2 separate regions of the Homo sapiens genome follow, and region 2 is linked to region 1. Evidence: promoter capture Hi-C in human tissues and cell types (Jung and others, 2019). All regions are on one chromosome and are shown on one strand. The core of a region is centred on a gene start or on the middle of the fragment in contact, and the rest is flanking DNA. Distances in the headings are between cores, read along the strand shown.

Evidence for each region. Contacts are between HindIII fragments. The study calls those that stand out against the background at their distance.
Region 2: a contact is called between a fragment that was not itself captured here and the fragment with the promoter of CCDC63 in region 1, in 5 of the 25 tissues and cell types used here (dorsolateral prefrontal cortex, hippocampus, lymphoblastoid cells and 2 more).

What each region holds. Positions count from the first base shown.
Region 1 is chr12:110,845,005-110,849,504 of GRCh38, forward strand. CCDC63 (coiled-coil domain containing 63) reads left to right here and starts at 1,983. Exons shown (of 12, transcript NM_152591.3): 1 at 1,983-2,101. The HindIII fragment of the contact is 19,678 bases long and covers 1-4,500 here.
Region 2 is chr12:110,748,191-110,752,690 of GRCh38, forward strand. No RefSeq gene overlaps it. Among named protein-coding and RNA genes, the nearest start is that of PPP1CC, 7.6 kb to the left of the region's middle. The HindIII fragment of the contact is 5,871 bases long and covers 1-4,500 here.

The DNA of each region.
Region 1 (4,500 bases), core at 733-3,232:
TGGCTCATCGCTTTGGCAAGCTGGCATCTCACCCTGCTCCAAGTCCCGCTGATAAAGCAGAAGGTCCCTTTAGCAGAATCGATTCTGACATGTTCTAATTAAAAAAGCCTGATACGTCTCTGCATGGCGGCTGCTGAGAGCTGCGCCCATAAAGACAAAGAGAGTAAATTCGTCGGAGGAAGGTCTATTTTTAACAAGTCCTGAACCTAATTGAACTTAATCATTTTTCAGTCGTTGACACTTGAAATGTGTGAGTCATTGGGCTCTGCATGGAGCTGAGTGCTGGAGCAGCCCTTTAAATATCAGAGATGGGAGATATCAGCTTGCAGGGCTGCTCAGATTTGGGGCTGTGGTTTCAGTCAGGGTGTGGAAAAGCGTGGGGCTCCAGAGACAGGGAGCCTTGGGTTCAAATCCTGGCTGCTCCACTGACTGCAAAACTCGGTTTCTCTAAGTCTGTTTCCCCATCTGTAAAATGAGGATGGTCAAGTGTATCCAAAACACTTCATATGAATCATTTGGAGGCAAGGCCTGACATGTAGCTGTTCATAATCTATCCTTATCTTACTTGACATGAATATTGATGTTTCCTTGCAGAAACAGTAATTCGTTTGATCTGGACTGTGTGGCCCGAACCCTGTATGTAATATACTGTCCCACTGACTTCCCTCATGGTTACAACGTGGCTGCCAGCAACATTAGGGGCAACATACTCCCTTGCGTACCATATTATCTTTCTGAAACCAAAAACATGGTAAGTTCTTTTTTTTTTTTTTGAAACGGAGTCTCACTCTGTCACCCAGGCTGGAGTGAGTGTGATCTTGGCTCACGGCAACCTTTGCCTCCTGGGTTCAAGCAATTCTCCTGCCCTAGCCTCCCGAGTAGCAGAGACTACAGGCACCCACCGGGTGTGTGCCACCATGCCGGGCTAAATTTGTTATATTTTTAGTAGAAATACAAAAAAAAAAAAAAAAAAAAAAGAAATACACAGGGTTTCACCATGTTGGCCAGGCTGGTCTTGAGCTCCTGACCTTAAATGATCTACCTGCCTCAGCCTCCCAAAGTGCTAGGATTATAGGCATGAGCCAGCGCACCTGGCCTCCAAAATATGGTAAGTTCTAAAACACACATCCTGTCCCAAGAATTTACGGATGAAGTGGAGACCTTAGCAGGGCTGAGCTACTACAATCCACTCAGGGGGCTAGGAGTTAAAGTGGAAATCACATGGAATCAAAATTACTGTAGAAAACAGGTACCCCCAATAATTTTCCATTAATTCTGTGATTGTTTCTAGAGCTTAGCCCCAGAGAAAGTAGTTGACTTGTGTTTCAGGGCCGATTGTATGAAAAATGTGTATCTTTAAACCACTAAACTCCGTTAGGGCAGTGAAAAGCTCACTTGCCTGGATCACACTTGGGTTCCCGTGTTATGCTCACAGTGGGTGGGGGTCAGGTGGATGTTCTGAAGAAAATTCTCCTGCACTGATGAAGTTATTTTTCTCATGAAATATCTCTTTCCCCCCCCGCCCCAACATTTTTTTTTAATTTATTTTTACTTTATTTTATTTTTCAGAGTAGAAAAAACTGGGCTCCTTTGAGTTAGCTGCGTGTGAAGTCTGTACCTAGCAGGGCTGCTGTGAGCATGAGTGTAGGTGTAGGCTAAGAAGACGGTGAATGGGGTGTGAGTGGGGCGAGGTGGACCAGCGATTGCATGGCGTTGGCCGAGGGAGGGGCTAAGACTGTTGATTGACTCAAGAAGTCACTTAGCGTCATGAGGGTCCGGGTAGTCTGGTAAGGGGTCGCTGGAGAGTGTGTCGCCCCTCTCCCCCAACCAAAAGCTTCCCTCCAACCAGCTGCTCTTGTCCTCTCCTCCCGAGGGCCCTGTGCCCTCCCAGCGGACTTGCAGGGGAGAACGTCCATGTTTGTGCGAGTCACAAAGGCGCCCGTTCCAGGGGTCCCAGAACGCCCGGGCGTGGGGCTGGGGGTGTGGCGCAGCGAGGCCGCGCAGCAAGCAGTCCTCCCGGCACCGTCGGAAGCGCAGTTGCAGCAGCCGTCGGACAAGCGGCCGGAGCAGCCACGGACAAGCAGTCCGGGCCCCGCCACTGGTAAGTTTCGCCGCCCGCCCGGCCGCGCCTGCTGCGCCACAGCTCCCCCTGCCAGGGAAAAGGAAAGAGCGGTCGCGGTCCCCAGTCCATTCATATCTCGCTGCCCTAAGCGTTGAAAGTATCAGGGTCTCCCGCAATCATGCATAAATAAATTGTAGTGTGTAAAATAACTCCAGAGCCGCGCGAGGTGGCTCATGCCTGTAATTCTAGCACTTTGGGAGGCTGAGGCAAGAGGATCGCTTGAGCCCAGGGGTTCGAGACCAGCTCGGGCAAATTCGTCTTTACAAAATATTTAAAAACTTAGCCGGGCGTGGTGGTGCCACCTGTAGTCCCAGCTTCTTGGGAGGCTGAAGGGGGAGGATCGCTTAAGCCCGGGAAGGTTGAGGCTGCAGTGAGCCGAGATTGAACCACTGCACGCTAGCCTGGGTGACAGAGAGAGAGAGAGACGCTCTCAAAAAAGGAAAAAAAAAAAGTTCAACAAATTTTTATTTTCCTCCCATAATAATCCTTAAAAAACAAAAAACAAAACAAACAAACAAAAAACAAGAAAAACAACAACAACAACAAAAAACTGTGTATGTGTTTCTGTGCTCCTGTTTGGCTAGTGCCCTAAGCACATGTTTAATTCCAGGTTGTGCAGCCCTGGCTCAATATGATCCACATAGCTGCCTGTCCCAAGGTCCCTAGGGAATCCTTCGGGGGCAGGCTTGTCTTTTAAAGGCAGGTTGTTAAAATTCAGAAGCAGATGAGGTGCAGGCCTAATTAGATATTAGATAAATGAAGATGATCTCTGCCTGGAGGAAACTTCATTCATTCAAACTGTATTTGCCAAGAGCTGCCCATGCGCCCAGGACTATGGATGCTGTGGTGAATAGACTGAGGCCCAAGGGGCAGGAGGCCCTTGCCTGACGTCCCCTGACCTGGGCTGCTGGGCTTCTCTGCACTTTTCCTCGCACACGCTGTTCCCCAGAAGTGGGCAGCTTTTAGATTCCTAACAGGAACTGCAAATTCAAATTCCTACTGGCTCTAGGCAGTTACAGAAAATGTGAGAATTGTGGGGAGGGGAGCTTAGCCAATAGGGAGGAGTGGGGCCTGTGGCCAGGAGAGTGAGTGCATGACCCACATTTATGTTTTGAAACACTGTGGAACAGAACTGGAGGTAGGTTGAATTGGCCCCATGGACTATGAGTTTCAGACCCTTGAATGAGAGGGTGGTAAGCCAGGGGTCAGGACATCCAGGAGATGCTCTGCAGGCCAAGCTATGAGGATGGGGGTGAGGGGGTGGATCTGTTCCCCAGGGAATGTAGGAGCCCATCCCAGAGGGCACTGATCGAAAGGGAAAGGCCTGGGTTAACATCTGGAACCTGAAGAGAAGCCAGCACCCTAGGGGAGAGTGACTATGTATGCGCATATGGATCAGCAAAAAGGCAGGAGGTGATGGAGCTTTTGGTTCCTGGAGAATGGTGCATAACCCAGCCAATGATCTCATGGGCCAGACAGACTGGTACTTGAAAATCCCACTTCACAAACAGGCTACGTTCGCCCAGCGTCTGTCATGAGCTAGGCACTATGCTAACCACTTTACAGACATTATTTTGCGCTGAGATATGGGTGTGGGTATCCCCATTCTACAGATGAGGAAACTGAAGCTCAGAGAGGTCAAATCACACTGTCAGTGAAGGTCAGATATACCCAGTTCATGTTATTAAGATGGTGCATTACAAATCCACTTAGGACCCAAAGGGCCCTGGAACATAGAACAGCTCCTGGACAATATGAAATTGGAGCTGCCCCAAATTCCAGGGCTGAAAGAGGTCCCAGAGAGAGCATCCTGTGCCCAAACCTTGTTAGTCAGGTAAATCCTCCTACAGCTTCTACTCCTACCTGGAGGACCCTTCCAGAAATGATCAAGATACAGAACCATTGTCTTATACCACTTCCCTGCCTGTGGGAATTTCCCAACATCAGACAATTCAGTTGGCCCCCAAACCCTCAAAAACATCAGGGAAAATCCAGAGGTTCCTACATTACCAGCCACTATTTTCCTATCACCCATTAACCTGAGAACCATTTTCAAGGTATGGACCATGTCAGTTAGGAATGCTTTAGGCTTCAATGAACAAAATATTTGGTGACTGCCTTAAACAACAGTGACTCTTGCTATTTCACCTAACATGATGTCTAGAGGTAGGCAGTTCCAGGGATGGGGCAGTAGCCAACAGTGTCAGTTAGAACCTAAATTTTTTCCTGTCTTTCCTCTTTGCTGTCTTTAGGTGTGACGGTGATATTTCTCTTCATGGTCATGGGAGGGTTGCCACTGAACCATCATGCATGCCTTCACAATAATTTCTAAAAGCAGAAGGAGAGAGGAACACGAACAAGCTCTTATTTCCTTTTTT
Region 2 (4,500 bases), core at 1,329-3,828, 96 kb before region 1:
TTGGAATAGTTTTAGGTTTACTGAAATGTAGCAAAGATGGTACAAAGAGTTCCCATATGCCTTTAGGTTTCCCCTTAATGTTAACATCAACAGCCAAGGCATTGCTCATAATTATTTCCTAACACCTAAATCATAAAGAAATGGTGGATCAGGCTGGGCGTGGTGGCTCATGCCTGTAATCCCAGCACTTTGGGAAGCTGAGATGGGCGGATCGCTTGAACTCAGGAGTTTGAGAACAGCCTGGGCAACATGGCAATACCCTGTCTCTACAAAAAATACAAAAAATTAGCCGGGCTTGGTGGTGTGCACCTATAACTCCCAGCTACTCAGGAGGCTGAGGCAGAAGAATTGCTTGAGCCCCGGAGGTTGAGGCTGCAGTGAGCTGTGACTGTGCCATTGCATTCCAGCTGGGGCGACAGAGTGAGACCCTGTCTCCCCCACAAAAAAATGATGGATCATAAAATATCACATCACATATAACCCAGAGAGCATCTTCTTCAAAATAAGGTCTGATTGTGTGTATGTGTTTTGAAAGATCGGGTTTTGTTTTGTTTTGTTTCTGAGATGGAGTTTCGCTCTTGTCGTCCAGGCTGGAGTGCAATGGCGCGATCTCATCTCACTGCAACCTCCGCCTCCCAGGTTCAAGCGATTCTCCTGCCTCAGCCTCCCAAGTAGCTGGGATTACAGGCATGTGCCACCACGCACAGCAAATTTTGTATTTTTAGTAGAGACGGGGCTTCTACATGTTGATCAGGCTGGTCTCGAACTCCTGACCTCAAGTGATCCACCCACCTTGGCCTCCCAAAGTGCTAGGATTATAGGTGTGAACCACCGAGCCTGGCCAAGATCAGGTTTTACTATGGTGCCCAGGCTGGACACGAACTCCTGGACAGTTACTTCCTACCCAAGTAACTGGGACTATAGGTGCACACCTCCATGCTTAGCTCTGATTGCATTTTTTTTTTTTTTGAGACAGAGTCTTACTCTGTCACCCAGGCTGAAGTGCAATGGCATGATCTCGGCTCACTGCAACCTCCACCTCCCGGGTTCAAGCGATTCTCCCACCTCAGCCTCCCGAGCAGCTGGGATTACAGGCACCTGCCATCATGCCTGGCTAATGTTGGCCTGGCTGGTCTCGAACTCCTGACCTCAGGTGATCCTCCCACCTCGGCCTCCCAAAGTGCTGGGATTACAGGCGTGAACCACCGCGCACAGCCTACATTTTTAAAAGATTTCTTTGGTTTCCGTGAGGAGAATGGACTGTAGGTGAGAAGGAGAGGAAGCTATGAGACTAGAGAGCAGGCTGTTGAAAAATGTGGCTTTAGCCGGGAGCGGTGGCTCATGCCTGTAATCCCAGCACTTTGGGAGGCTGATGCAGGCGGATCACTTGAGGTCAGGAGTTCGAGGCCAGCCTGGCCAACATGGCGAAACTCATCTCTACATCTAATACAAAAATTAGGCGGGCATGGTGGTGGGTGCCTGTAATCCCAGCTACTCCAGAGGCTGAGGCAGGAGAATCTCTTGAACTCAGGAGACGGAGGTTGCAGTGAGCCAAGATTTCAGCACTGCACTCCAGCCTGGGTGACAGAGTGAAATTGTGTAATATATATATGTGTGTGTGTGTATATATATATATACACACATGTATATATGTATGTGTATATATGTGTATATATACACATACATACATATATATGTACATATATACACATATACACACATCTGTATGTATACACATACACACACATCTGTATGTATGTATACACATATATACATATATGTATATATGTATAAAATATAAAGTATACACATGTATAAAGTAAATGTCCATTTTATATATTTATATATATAAATATATGTATTTATGTTTATAAATGTATATATATTTATATTTATAAACGTATATATACTTATAAATGTATATATATTTATACTTATAAATGTATATATATTTATACTTGTAAATGTATATATATTTATACTTGTAAATGTATATATTTATACTTGTAAATGTATATATATTTATACTTGTAAATGTATATATGTGTGTGCGTGTGTGTGTGTGTGTATACATATATTATATATATATGGTGGCTTTACTGATTAGTCTTAGTTTTCTAATCTGCAAAATGGGGACATTATTACCCATCTCAGAATGTGATCGTGAGAATGTATCTTCCAATGTACTTAGGGTGCTAACAGGAATAATGATGACAATAACAGTGATAATAGCTGGCATTTATTGAGTGTTTTCTGTGTGCCAATCTCTATGCTCATGGCCTTTCATGCATGCTCATTTTATTTTATTTTTGAAACGAAGTCTTACTCTGTCACCCAGGGTAGAATGCAGTGGCATGATCTCCGTTCACTGCAACCTCTGCCTCCTGGGTTCAAGCGATTCTCCTGCCTCACCCTCCAGAGTATAGAGTAGCTGGGAGGACAAGCATGCACCACCACACCTGGCTAATATTTTTGTAGGCTGGTCTTGAACTCCTGACCTCAGGTGATCCACCTGCCTCGGCCTCCCAAAATTCTGGGATTACAGGCATGAGCCACCATGCCTGCCCTAATTTTTCTGATTTTTTTTTTTTTTTGTAGAGATAGGGTCTCGCTATGTTGCCCAGGCTGATGTTGAACTCCTGGGCTCAAGCGATCCTCCTGTCTCAGCCTCCCAAAGTGCTGGGATTACAGGCTTGAGCCATTGCGCCCTGCATGCATGCTCATTTTAATCTTCACACTATTTTAGGAGTTAGGTTTCGCCAAGGGAAATAATTTATAACCCAGCTGGGGAGGGCCAGAGCCAGGATTTAAACCCAGGGAATCTGATGTCACACTTCTTCCTCCAAACACAGAAGTTATGTTCTTAGGGATCAGGGAGAGCAGATTCTTTGGGATGTTCCCAGGAGCCTTCTTGGAGCAGGGGGATTTAGATGGGCTGTTCAAAACCTCTTGCACCAGCCTTGGCCTTCACAGAGCCTTCATTGTCGTTGGGTGTGTCTTTCTTTGAGAAGGCCCCAAATACACTTTCATCTGGAATTATCCAACAGTGAAACTAGGATGATTATCGCCTTGCTAAATGTTCCTTAGCATCACAAAATGACTCACTCTGTGGTCGGGAAAGAAACAAGCTATCCCAGCATCTGGAGGGTGGATCGCACTGCCATTTGGAACAAAGTCTGGCAAAGGGAGGCTCACTTTAGAGCAGGGATTGTTGACCTGGGCGCTATTGACGTTTTGGGCTAGATCGTTCTCTGTCGAGCGGGTTCTGTCCTGTGTACTACATGGTGTTTAGCGGCATCCCTGATTTCTACCCACCAGATACAAGTAGCATGCCCCTCTTCTCCAATCATGACAATAAAAGATGTCTTCTGGCCAGTGTGGTGGCTCACACCTGTAATTCCAGCATTTTGGGAGGCCAAGGTGAGAGGATTGCTTCAAGCCCAGGAGTTTGAGACTAGCCTGAACAATGTAGTGAGACCCCATTCCTTAAAAAACATGTTTTGGCTGGGCACGGTGGCTCACGCCTGTAATCGCAGCGCTTTGGGAGTCCAAGGCAGGTGGATCCCTGAGGTCAGGAGTTCGAAACCAGCCTGGCCAACATGGTGAAACCCCATCTCTACTAGAAATACAAAAATTAGCTGGGTGTGGTGGTGGACGCCTGTAGTCCCAGCTACTCAGAAGGCTGAGGCAGGAGAATCACTTGAACCTGAGAGGTGGAGGCTGCAGTGAGCTGAGACAGCACCACTGCACTCCAGCCTGGGTGACAGAGTGAGACTCCATCTCAAAAAAAAAAAAAAAAGAAAAAGAAAAAAACATTGTAATGAACTATTTAGAACTTGGAGCGAAGTATAGATTGGTAATGAAAAAAATGCAATGAACTATTTAAAGCTTAAAGTACTTGCATATAGATACCCCTCTTCACACTCCAGAGATTCCAAATGTTAACATTTGGCCATATTTGACTTAGTTTTTTTTCTTTATTTTTTTTTTAGGTAAGAAAGGAAATGAAGTATTATGGTTGACACTTTTTTTTTTTTTTTTTTTTTTGAGACGGAGTCTTGCTCTGTCGCCCAGGCTGTAGTGCAATGGTGCGATCTTGGCTCACTGTAACCTCCACCTCCCAGGTTCAAGCGATTCTCCTGCCTCAGCCGCCCAAGTAGTTGGGATTACAGGTGCCCACCACACCTGGCTAATTTTTGTATTTTTAGTAGAGACTGGGTTTCGCCATGTTGGTCAGGCTGGTCTTAAACTCCTGACCTCAAGTAATCCACCCACCTTGGCCTCCCAAAGTGCTGGGATTACAGGCGTGAGCCACCATGCCCAGTCTACTCTCTTTGAATCCCATCTCCATCCTATTCGCTTCCCCTTTCCTTCCCCAGAGGTAGCACCAGGCAGCCTAATATTGTTGTGTAGGTGACTATGTTTTCACTAGGTTACAACATCTAATAAACAAACTAACAGTCAACAAGGAAGAAAACCAACAGCCTTAACCCTCAGGGG